3 separate regions of the Homo sapiens genome follow, and regions 1 and 3 are each linked to region 2. The links are contacts of gene promoters, found by promoter capture Hi-C in blood cells and fetal thymus (Javierre and others, 2016). All regions are on one chromosome and are shown on one strand. The core of a region is centred on a gene start or on the middle of the fragment in contact, and the rest is flanking DNA. Distances in the headings are between cores, read along the strand shown. Region 1 has its middle 93 kb from the start of EDEM3. Region 2 holds the start of PRG4 (proteoglycan 4). Region 3 overlaps SWT1 (SWT1 RNA endoribonuclease homolog).

Region 1 (4,194 bases), core at 712-3,211, 1.6 Mb after region 2:
TAATAATATTACTCCCACCTTGCAAGGCTTTGGGAAAGATTAGAGAGAATGTAAAAAGGTCCATGTGAGAGGTCCTCGTGGGTTAATGTGTGGGGGGAGTCCCCAGTCCCTCCCCGGGCACTCAGAGCGATGTGGGAAGACTGTGGAGCCCATGCTTATTGATGCTGTTTCATTTCAATTAAACCTCCGTCAGAAACATCGCATGACATCAAAATGGAAGAGATGTTGAGTCTGAACGGTGAGGTCATAGATTTTGTTTTTATTTATGTATTTTCCAAATAAAAATATGTATCATGTTTTCTCATCATAATTGTAATATGTGATGATGTATCAATTATGGAAAATACAGAAACTGTAAAAGAGGAAATGAGGAAAACCTTTGCTTCTCACTGTTACAGATAACTACTGTTCAAAATTATAGATAACAACTCTGGAGGCTGAGGTAGGAGGACTGCTTGAGCCCAAGAGTTCGAGGCTGCAGTGAACTATGATTGCACCATTGCACTCCAGTCTGGGTGACCAGCAAGATCCTGTCTCTAAAAAAAATAAAAATAATAAAAATTTTAAAAATATTTAATTAAAAAATTATAATGAATAATAATTTATTGTATATTTTAAAACAACTACAAGGAAAGAATTATAATGTTCATGACACAAAAAAAGATAAATGTTTGAGGTGACAGACATCCCAATTACCCTGACTTGATCATTACATGTTGTATACATGTATCAAAATATCACATGTACCCCAAAAATATATATAACCATGATATATCAATTAAAACATACTAAAAAAGAGCGATAACTACTCACTTTTCCTTTACTTAGAGTGTTTCATTAATACATTTACTGTTTTACAGAATTGGTATCACATTGTAGGTTACTATACTACACTTTTAAAATGTAATATTTCATAAACATTTTACCATGACATCAAATAATCTTAACACATTTAAGAATTAATGGTTGCCTTCCAATTTTCTTTGCAAAGTGGTTCATTATTTTTGTCATGGAAAAATAAATTTACACTTGAAAGAACTTTATTGTGTTAAAAAAATACTTGTAAGAGGGCTGCACTGCTTTGCCCAACAATGCAGTGTGTTATGTTTTATGTGTAGTGCAGGTCTGATGAAAGGTGATAAGCCTCCAGTAGTAACCATGATATGTGAAATGGAGATAAAGATGGTTGATTTTGTGAGGATTAAATGAGATCAGATAGGCAATGTGTCTCTAAGACAGTGTGGGCCATGGTGAATGCTGTCATGACAAAATTATGTTAGTCAAGGACATTGCTAAGAGAATAAGATGGGTGCTGGTTGGGGGTGACCTGGAGAATTGGAGGATAGCCCTGCCAGTGGCTGCTGAAGCCAGCTCCTACAGGATATCAAAAGCCAATGTTAAATACTCAGGAACTTTACAAGCTGGTTGTAAAAGCCTGTGAAATTTCACTGGTAGCTTGAAATCTGTTATGGTATGAGCATTTACACCACCAAAATTGGAAATCAGCAAATGCTATATTGTTCTCTATGTATGTATGTACTTTTCAGAGAGCTGATTTTACCAGCACACCACTAGCAGGGATAATTCAAAAGCTTTGCTTTTTCTCAAAGTGGTGGAGCCTGCAGGAAATGCTTGTGAGGGCTTGTAAAGCATTAGTAGATTTTGTTGAGATGGTGTGTGATAAACATGAGCTGAAATCTTGGTCTGATTGCTCTTGCTCTAACTGGAGGAAAGAATAGGGAAGCATAAGCGTTGGGGAAGCTAAAAGGGTAAACCTGGGGAGTTATTGTTTATGCTCCAAAAACAGAAATAACTGGATTAGAGGATAAGACTGCAGGAGATGGGAAGCCTTGTCACTTGGAGTGACAAAGACCTATTAGTAAATGGGAAACTCAGGGCTGAAGAGACATTCTTGGCCAAGAGAAACTTGTGGGAAGGAGTTTGATCGATGAACAAACACAGCAGTCTCTTTTGCCATAGAAGGCAGGTGGCAAGGATCAGAGTCAGAGGGTCCGTGCGCTACAAGGGTTCACAGATCACTGGTCTGTCTTCTTCATCTGACCCTGTCAATTACTTCTGAGATTCCCCACCCCCACCTCCAGGAGCTCAGGTGCAGGCTATAGTCTTCTTCTGCCACTTCTCTGTTCTGTCAGCACACCACTGCTTCTGTGCCCTTTGCCCTTGCAGTTTGGGTTTTCCAAAGGCAGAAGCAAGGACAGCGTTCTTCAAGAGGACTTCATGGTGTTTTAGAGATCAACACCTTGGAAAGGAAGAAAAGAAAGAGAATAGGGCCTGGGAAGACAGCTTCAATGCAGACCCAATAAAGCTTCCGGCAACCAGGTGAAGAATCTCCGGAGAGACCATTGCCCTTCAAATGTTCTGTGCCACCTGGGCCAGGATTTTAATAAGCTGCTTTGCTCAGTCTCCATATGAGAGCTGCCCAGGAAGGGAATGTCAGGGGCAAGGAGACTGCCTGCAACTGAGGCAGACCCTGGAGAGATAGAGGCGGGGGACTAACTACACTCCCACAGTGATCTGCTTTTGGGGAGGTGGCGTGGCAGAGAAGACACAGCTTTCTTCTTCCTCCACAGTGAGGGAGCAGCCTCCTTCACTACCCTCAGTATTGGTGCTCTTTAGAGGAATTTTCTGAAGGGCTGGGGACATCAAAAAGGAAGTAGGACACAGTAGAGAATAGGTCATAATTAATGTTAGAGGTGGCCACTGTCAGGGCTCACAGGTCCAGGTGGGCCTATCCTTGGCCTCTGCAGAGGGTTTTGGGGCCAGGCTCCACTGGCTGGGCCTGCCCACCCCTGCATCATGACTTCCTGTCCAGACCCAACTGCCCAAGGTCAGGAGAGAAGAAAATGCTCTCTGCCTCAGCCCAACTCAGGGCCTGGCTTCCCAGGCTCCATTTCTTGTGTTAGGATCTACCCTTTCTCAGCATTTTTTCAAAGGGGGAATGACTGCCTCTTTCTTGGGGAATGCCATTTTACACACACAGGTGGGGAGTGGGTGGGACAGCCACCTCAAGCTGGTTTCTCTTCAGCAGATTCTGGGTGGCTTAATCTTACAAAATGGTTTAGGCAGAGCTGCCCTAGGCCAGTCCATTTCTTTCTTACTGTGTCATACATGGGATTTGGTCCTGTAGCACTTCTTTCCAGCTCTCTACATCTTGCAAATTATGCTTTAAAAATCCTCATGCGTTTGATATAGGGTGCATTCTAAATCATTCAGAAAAGGAAAACATTTCTCCTATTTTTCTCTTTCCCTCCCTCCTCACCATAAAACAAACATGAAATCTCCAGTCAGAAGAAAACATAACCCAGTCTACAGAAATCTGAGCTCTGGCACAAGCAGACACATGTTAGCATCACCCTGCAGAACACTCAGCTTCTGAGGCAAAAATATTTCTTTTGGGAGAGGGATGATTTTACTAGGTTTTTTCTGAATAAACTTTATGAAACCACACGGTTTCTTCATATGGTTTTCCCAGAATAAAAGGACAGTCTACCAAAAGTGAATTTGAGTTTCAGTCTTTTCAGGAAACAGTGGCTTGCATTTTAAAATCATTGTTTTCTTCAGCTTTTAAATTAGTTAAAAATTAGTTAAAAAACAAATTAGGAAGAAAATTCTAGCTACAGGATTCCATAAGAGATACACATAACTGTGAAAATAAGAAAAAAATTCCCTATGAATAAATTGAGAATAACTTGAGTGGGAAAGCTTTAAAAGGTTTAAAACAGAAGAAAACTATCATGCAAGCATACTAATACATATTATTGCAAAAATGTTTAAGAAAGAATGAGCAAAGAGAACAATGTATCATAATAGTAATAATATTTGACCAAGGAGGGCTTATTATAAAAATACAAGAATATAAGAATGGTTCAATATTAATAAATATATTAATGAAATTCATTATATCAGTATATTAAAGCACATTATTAGTCAAAAAACTAAGTAAAGTTATAAATAGAAAAGTATGAAAATATGATAATGATGAACAAATATCAATAGCAAACATCATCATAAATAATGAAATGAGAATACCATTTTCATTAAAATCAAGAACAGAAAAGACATGCTCATTATCCCCAAAATTCAACATTAGTTAATTCTAGTAAATGCAAGAAGGCAAAAATTGAAATATTTTGCATAAATATGGAAAAAGAAGAGATGAAAGATCATACTTTA
Region 2 (4,426 bases), core at 690-3,189:
ATAGAGACAAGATTTTGCCATGTTGCCCAGGCTGCTCTTGAACTCCAGACCTCAGGTGATCTGTCTCCCTAGGCCTCCCAGAATGCTGGGATTACAGGTGTGAGCCACCACACCCAGCCCCATTAATTTTAATTTGATTTATTTAATCACAATTAAAATGAAAGTAACACTGTTTTAGTGAACAACCAATTGTATCACAGAGGAAAAGGCAGTTTAGAAAGTGCCCCCAGTGTTGTGAACCTTGTCATAGTGTTACGAGAAAGCCGAAGGGTCTGGAGATACTGGAGTAGTCATCATTCTTATTGAATATTCACATTTGCTTTCATGTGTTTTCCTGTCTTTTCTTATCTAAACAATTCTGCAACTTATGCCTATGCAGACAGTTACCACTCATGTTCAGGTTTCATAAGAATCTCGTATTTTACTGGAAATGTTTACTTTAGAAACATAATTTCATCATAACTGTCATGAATCTTGATTTTTATTCTCTCAGATTTTGCTTATCAAAGGGGAACAAAAGGAAAAGAAAAGAAAAGAAAAATCCAAAGCTTGGCATTGTTACTATTAATCCCCCTAGATGGCATGCTAGCATCTTTTACTAATGTGATTTCACTGAATGTACTTTAACAGTCTCTAAAAATGAGTAACAAGAACTATTCATCCAGGACCTGTTTTGGGAGAACTGTGAAAAGTTTAATGTTATAACACAAAATGACAGTCACATCTGTATATGTCCATACCTGGATAAATAGTTCTTGTAAGAAAAAGAGAACATTTTCAAGACTAATAAAATGCCATTTGAAACACTATAGTTTATTATAATATGGTATCTATGTCTAAATGATGCCAAAATAAGTTATTTATCAATAATTTATTTGATTTTAAAAAACAAATTGTTCAACATATAGGCAAAAATTACATGTTATCTAAATATTGTTCTTTTTTAGTTATTTTTATGATACTATATAGCTCCAGCATAATTTTATGATGAACTGTCTGCACTTTTTAAACTTTCGAGAGAACCATAGAAATAACAAGTACCAAAATTATTCTTTATACAAGCTCAAAACTCTCAAAAGGAGAAAAAGATGAGAATTCCAAAGCACTTACAAACAGGCTACATGTTATATATTATTTTAAGGTTGTACAGTATATTAAACTCAAGCAAATATAAATTTTTAGAAATATATTTCCGTTGTTATAAAAATCAAGACTGAATGATTAGCAATAGTTGTTAAATAAAAGTATGTTCGATGGTTAAGCTACCTTGAGATGAAACTTGCTGAATCACGAAAACAGACAGCAGCAACAACAGGTAAATGGGAAGTGTTTTCCATGCCATCGTTGTTTTCAGGTACCGTAGGTACCCTTGCTGAAAATAAAATAAAAGTATCAGAAAACAGCTCTTTCATCTCACCACTAACTTAGGCTTGCATTATACACATTTCAGTAACTTTAAAAATGTAACAATAATAAAACCATCCCATTCTTGAAACAAGACTTTAAATCAGCTTTAATTTTATAGAAAATATTTGGCCATTAGACTTAATCTTATGCAGAACAAATCAAGTCACCCTCAGCCACGTTATTGACAGTTTTAATTCTTAAGAAATCTCCAATATAGAATAGACTTATCTTAAAACTCTAGCCAAAGTATGGCATGTACTTAACAGTGCAAGGTTAAAATTTTATCTTAAGGAAAATAATAACCTGTGTCACAGAAATGTAATTTAATAAGCATCATGGAGTTACTGTTCCAACTTTTTCTTAATTCTCAATATAAATTCAAAGGCTTCCAACAGGTGTATTGCATAAACATAATCCTTTTCAAAAATTTCCAACTACTATCTTTACACATTTTTTTTCAAACACCTCTAATGAAAACACATTTAATTCTATGAAGCAAGTTAACTTTGACACTTACCCGTAAAGGATAGATGAGTTTATCCCACGTCCTGGGAGTCTTATATATCAGTGCAAATACAGTGGGATGAACCAATTAGTCCAAAGGTTAGACAAAATCAACAGTGACAACCTATGAAATCAAACTTTCCTCATTTATTGGAAAAGGGCCCAGACGACTAGACTTAGGCAACATCTGGAAAACACTTCCATTAAGCAAAATGACTACCACAAAATAAATTTAGATGTATTGGCCAGAGCACATTTCTAATTTCTAAGTGAAGTGAACAAATTGTCCTGAGATGGTAAATAGCTCTGGCAGACTTTGACTAGTATATTGAAGCAGCAACTTTAAAATATTCACATACTGGTATCATTTATTTCTTCTGCTTTCCAGTTAAATCTAGCAAAGGTAGCTTTGAAATTTACCTAGTGTTAGCTTGTGGCATACATTTTATATACTTATACCATTATATCAAATATACATTTCTTGAGTAGTTTCATTTTCTCTGAGCACAGAAAACATGCTCTCAGTTACCTACAGGTAGATTATTGACACTGGATTTTCTAGCTTCCTTTATTATTTTAAAAATCTGCTTAAAAAATGTATTGATATTTTCCTTAGATCCTTCCTTTAAGATAAGCATGTTTGGAAAAGGTCTTTTAAATTACTAATTTTGTTTCCTTCCCACAATGAAAATGTGAACCATCACCATTGCAGAGCTAAGTCAGCTCAGCCCAAGGCTTTACCCCACTTTCATACGGAATGTATCGGTGTAAAATCTTACCCACCAACATAAGGCTTCGCTCATGTCCTAGCACCTCCCTGAAACCTTTCCAGATCAAATTCCAATCACATCTAGAATTATAGTAAACAATTGTACTACGTTTTACTAAAATATCTCTTCATCTGTCTCACACCCCCAACAGACTATGATTTCCCTAAGGACAACCAACACCTATATGTTAGTCTATTGCCAACATACAGCCCAGTTGTTTCACCAATGTTATATGTTTAAAACATGCTCACGCCGGGTGCAGTGGCTCACCCCTGCAATCCCAGCACTTTGGGAGGCTGAGGTGGGCAGATCACCTGAGGTCAGGAGTTTGAGACCAGCCTGACCAACATGGTGAAACTCCCTCTCTACTAAAAATACAAAAAATTAGCCGGGTGTGGTGGCAGGCGCCTGTAATTCCAGTTACTCGGGAGGCTAAGGCAGGAGAATCACTTGAACCTGAGAGGCAGAGGTTGCAGTGAGCTGAGATCACGCCACCGCACACCAGCTTGGGCAACAAGAGCAAAACTCAGTCTCAAAAAAAAAAAAAGAAAAGAAAAAAAAGAAAACATGTTCAGTGAACCACATGGTTGTAGGCTGGATTCTGCTGTCTACTACTCATTTGGTAGGTACTGCATTTAATTCTCACAAAATGTCTTAAAGTTAAATATAATCATCCACATTTACAAATAAGAAGATGAAGACCCACAAATGAAGAATGTGTGACCCATCCAAGGATCTATAAAGACTAGAGGCCAGAACCAAGATTTGAACCCATGTCTTTGCATTTTAAGTTCCGTCATGTTTCCACTACATCCAGCTCCCTTTTGATCAAAACCATCACTTAATTTGTAATCATTATACTAAATTTTACTCCTTTACTCTACATGTATACATAGGTTTGTGAGATTGTGACTTTTTTAAGACTAGAATTATAAGCATCTATTTTCTTTCTACAGTGCTTATTTCACAGGACTAAATATGTAAAGACAATTTCGAGGCTATCTGCTCATCTCTAAATAATCCCCCTTTTCTGGGAACTACTTCTCTTTCTATCGGGCTATTTTCCTTTTAGCTCTGGTTATATATGTTATCTTCCCACATCAGCCACAGCTGATAGGATTAGGAATTGGAACTTGAACAACCCGAGCCAATATGTTTTCTTCTCCTGGAAATTTGAAATTATAGTTCAGAGATTACAAATTTGTCTGTCTACGTAGACCAATAATGTGTACATTTCTGCCCATGGTCTAAAGGAGTAGAGAAAGTCCTTCAGAGTAAAAAGATCCATAAATATGAAGCAACCACGCAGAGAGAGAAATTTCTGATAACTTTCTAAGTCTTGGTTACTCTGTTTTTTAGACCCAACTTCTTGCTCTGTATCTTTATGGCAAGTTCCCCTTTTGGAGCTGAAGCTGGCTAAAGATGCATTTTGCTACTTGAAATCAATACACAATAGACACACAAAAGATCGTGTATGGAGTTGAACATTAGACAGAATTCTGTTAATTCTTAGCTCTACTGAGGCCAACAGCGGGGAAGCTACAAGCTTTGTAAGTTTTCCAAGTAAGACCTCTACAGTGTTGCTTTATTATTTCTTTGGACTATTGGGAATGTCCAAATCAGATACAAATATACCCAGAGATACATATTTTTAAATAAGATATAAATTGTTTTCTAATCATTGCCTTTTGAACTATATGCACTATCATTTTCCTACTTTGTATTAATCTCATAATGGTGATGGC
Region 3 (4,184 bases), core at 1,594-4,093, 1.0 Mb after region 2:
GAGACATAAGATACAAGGTTAATTAACTAGGTGTAAAGGAGAAAGAAAAACACTCATATATGAATCCTTAAATCCTTGGTAAGACTGAGCTACAAGTTTCATCCTATAAACAGGTTTTATTAAGTTAAATCAGTGTCTCTAGGTTAAAAAGGAGTAATTGCTATGAATTGCAGATATCCTTCATAATAAAACTGCCAGTTTCTCAAGAATATTAATGACACTTTGAACAAGTAGAGTTTATAAACAGGAACATACAAACTCATGTGAATGTCATGGGTTCTTCAACCTATGAGCATCAATAATCTTGGCCAATAAAATAATGAACTTTATTAACAGCTCCACACCTTACTGGGTGGAGAGAACAAAGGTGAGAAGCAAAACTCAATCATTATGCTGGATCTGTGTGGAATGCCTTTAACAGAGGCATATATCTGAATAGAGGCCACACACTTGCTCAGGATGACCAAAGGAAGTAACATAATTTTAGCCAGAAAAAAAAGGCACACAGAAAGACCTAACTTGGAGTAATGAAACTACTGAGATGAAATGTCCAGCAAGGTAATAAGATGAGATCTGTTAAAACGATTTTTAAATGGGTAAAATATTTGAAGACACTTTGCAAAAGAAGTTGATGCCATAAGAACACAGGAAAATACTATCATAAATCATTAAGAAAATGTAAATTAAAACCAAAATGGCATACACCTATTGAAACTGAATATACCAAATTCTGCTTACGATGCAGAGCAACTTGAACTCTCATACATTGCTGGAGGAACTGCAAAGGTGCACAGGCAGTTTAAAAAACAATCCATCCATTTTCTAATAATCTGTGACAAAGCAATCCCATTCGTAGGTATTTACCCAAGTGAAGGAACATATTCACACAAACCTGTATGTGAATATAGCAACTTTATTCATAATCACCAAAAACTGAATTCAGTGAAGTAGCCTTCCACCTGGTGAATGAATAAATTTGTACATCCATGGCAATGCAATACTTCTTGGGAATAAAATAATGAACTACTGATAATATGGATAAGTCTCAAGCATCATGCTAAATAAAAAGCCAGACTCAAAAGCCTCCATTAGCTGGGCATAGTGGCATGCACTTGTAGTCCCAGCTACTCAGGAGGCTGAGGTGAGAGGATTGCCTGAGCCCAGGAGTTCAAGGCTGTAGTATGCTATAATGTCTGAACAGCCACTGCACTTGGGCAACATAGCAAGACCCTGTCTCTTAAAAAAACAGTCTCCATTTATATAGCATTCAGGAATAGGAAAAACTACAGGGAAGGCAAACACATCAATGGCCTCCTGAGCTGGGAATGGGAGTTAATTACAAAGGGACATGAGGGAATTTTTAGGGGTGGTGTGACTTCAATATCTTGACTGCTGATGATTGATTGATTACATGTTTGACAGAACTCACAGAACTCTACACTTACGAAGGAAAAAAAGTTTTGTTTTTCTAGCTTAACCAAAGTGGTACCAAACCTTTAAAATATCAAGCTTAGAAGAAGGGCTAGAACATGTCCATATTTTACCTCATTAGAAATAAAGAATAGGATGTTGAAAATGGTTTGTGCTTTAAGAAGACTGAACCAAGCTAGTAGCTCGGATTTGGGTGTCCACCACCTCACCTTCCAGGCTTATAACTGGTAATTCTGCTCAAGAATCTGTCCTCAGTGTTTTCAACATCGAGAATTAATTTGAGACAAACTACATCTAGTTCATAAACAAAGCTAGAATTAAAAAGGATTCCTGTCACAGGCCAAAACTAGTCTACAAACCCTCAGGGTGGCCAATTCTTGCTTTTAACAACAGCCAAAGATATTAAAGAATTCCATGAATACAGAGATGGATTTTTAAAAATACAAGTATATATAATACTAAAACCCTCAGGAAAGCCAACATCTTGAGGTACTCTGGCTCCAGAAGAATCCATTTCTGTGGGCCATATTCCAAGATCTAAGAGGTGTATCTGTTTGACTTTACTGAGTGGCTTTTCACCTGACAGACCAGACAAACTTAAAAGCTTTCAAGTCAAACTTTGGTAGGCAAAGGTAAAGTATGTCTTTTGTTTTAGAGTAGGTGAGCCTGCAGGTCAATTTGTCAAAAATATTAACTAACCACAACTATGAGACACTACACACAGTGTAGTTCCTGCCTTCATGGGGCTCAGTTCTGTTCACTGGAGTGGGTTTTATATATACCCAATAAATAGAAGTGTGACTGGCCTGTCCAATCTCGAAGTCAGAAAAGGGCCATGGGTAGCATCACATCCTTAGAGACTGGATGCAGTCACCAGACTTTGAGGAAAGAGGGAAATTCATCCCAACCTGTCATGCTAGCTAAGAGAGCAAAAAGTCAAGAATATGAACAATGTGACCTAGGCTCTGAAAGCTGACCAAGACACCATCTAAATAAACCTGGACTGACAATGAAAGGACTTTCGTTCTCCCTTAAAATAATGTTCAAAATAGCAAGGAAATAGAGCTTCAGATGTGTCTTGTGTCACCTGGTCTTTCATGTGACAGTCAAAGATCCACAATGTGAAAGTGGGATTAACCCATCTGTGAAGTTCTAGTCTGTGCAGTCACAATTGACCACTGCAGGTTTTAACAAGAGGACCCTGTGGGGACACAACAGACTTCAATTCTTTAGCCAGCTTTTCCTTGGCTCAGAATATGGAGAGAGCTGGAGGCCCTCCAAACCAGAGGATGTTCGCTGGTCTTCCCAGGAGAGAAATGAACTATCTTTTGTAAAAGTAAGTTTCAAAGGCCAAGTGTAGTGGCTCATGCCTGTAATCCCAGCACTTTGGGAGGCCAAGGCAGGTGGATAACTTGAGGTCAGGAGTTCAAAACCAGCTTGGCAAACATGGTGAGATCCTGTGTCTACTAAAAATACAAAAAAAAAATTAGCCAGGCATACTGGTACATGCCTGTAATCCCAGCTACTTGGGAAGCTGAGGTATGAGAACTGCTTGAATCCAAGAGGCGGAGGTTGCAGTGAGCCGAGATCGAGCCACTACGCTCCAGCCTGGGTGACAGAGTGAGACTCTGCCTCAAAAAAAAAAAAAAAAAAAGGAAGTTGCAAAACAGTAAAGGAACTCTCAACCCCTGCATTACATGATTAGGACAACAAATAGAAAAGTAATAAAGTTTACGATCATAAAAAAAAAAAAAAAGCAACAAAGAAGGGAGAGGGAAAAACAAACAAAAAAAAGCAAGACCTGACATTTCAAATGATTTCAAATGGAAGAAATAAAAGCTAAAACAAAAATTTTAAAACAATGTTTTTGAATAAAAAAGACTAGAAAGTTAAAAAAGGACATCTTCACATCTCAATAATATTGAAAAAGTTTTTTATATAAGACTGAAGTAGGCATAAGGGTAAATATGTGATAAGACTGAAAAGAAATTTTAAGGAAAGGATTAACCTATATTAAAGCGATAAAAAAAAAAAAAAGAGGAGTTACCAGAACAAGGAAAAACAAAAACCCAACAATAACAACTAGAAGTTGAAGGATAAGGGTCTGAAAAAACTTCTTTTCATGGGGGTCAGCAGGCAACAGATGAATGTATATTTATTTGGCTTCTCAGGAAAGAAAAGGAAAGAGGCAGAGAGCAGAGATGCCCTCTTAAAGCTTCCCCATTTGCCCAGAAGCTCATAATCTCTGACAGCACTTTGAGCCCCATCTGTGCGGCTGGTGGTGTGGTTCCCTAATCTGGCAAACCCAAAGCTTAACAGGTTCTACACCAACTAGTGAATATCCTGAACAAGTTCTCTTTTATTGCAGACAGTCACTTTTATAATCATACCTTATGTACATATCAGAAACAATTTGGAAGTAAAAAGCCAAATCTTACCAAAAATAAGTTATTTATTGCTTTAAAAAATAAACATTTATAATAGAATACCAAATTCTATTTAATCTAATGTGTTAACAAAAGCATAATATATTCCAGTAAACAAGGACTTCCAACTTATCCTATAACTAAAAAGTCAACTAAACAGTTGGTTTTAGCTAGAGACAAACATCAGTCACTGCCACCAAATTCCATTATATAAATTTATTTTGCTTCACATTTAAGGAGAAACCCAGCAGAGGGGTCGCCCTGCTCTTCCCCACTAGAAATGTACTGAAAAGTGACAAGCCCACAGAAGGAAAGGCTGTATAAGGA

What was found. The method cuts DNA at HindIII sites, captures the fragments that hold promoters and counts their contacts. A CHiCAGO score of 5 or more calls a contact.
Region 1: a contact is called between a fragment that was not itself captured here and the fragment with the promoter of PRG4 in region 2, in 1 of 17 cell types (total B cells). The highest score is 5.2, in total B cells.
Region 3: a contact is called between a fragment that was not itself captured here and the fragment with the promoter of PRG4 in region 2, in 1 of 17 cell types (non-activated CD4 T cells). The highest score is 5.1, in non-activated CD4 T cells.

Annotation. Positions count from the first base shown.
Region 1 is chr1:184,659,461-184,663,654 of GRCh38, reverse strand. No RefSeq gene overlaps it. Among named protein-coding and RNA genes, the nearest start is that of EDEM3, 93 kb to the left of the region's middle. The HindIII fragment of the contact is 734 bases long and covers 1,595-2,328 here.
Region 2 is chr1:186,293,792-186,298,217 of GRCh38, reverse strand. PRG4 (proteoglycan 4) reads right to left here and starts at 1,939. Exons shown (of 13, transcript NM_005807.6): 1 at 1,925-1,939; 2 at 1,267-1,372. The coding sequence starts at 1,342. The HindIII fragment of the contact is 3,679 bases long and covers 551-4,229 here.
Region 3 is chr1:185,291,370-185,295,553 of GRCh38, reverse strand. It overlaps SWT1 (SWT1 RNA endoribonuclease homolog), which reads right to left. Exons shown (of 19, transcript NM_017673.7): 19 at 3,773-4,184. Among named protein-coding and RNA genes, the nearest start is that of IVNS1ABP, 24 kb to the left of the region's middle. The HindIII fragment of the contact is 1,611 bases long and covers 2,038-3,648 here.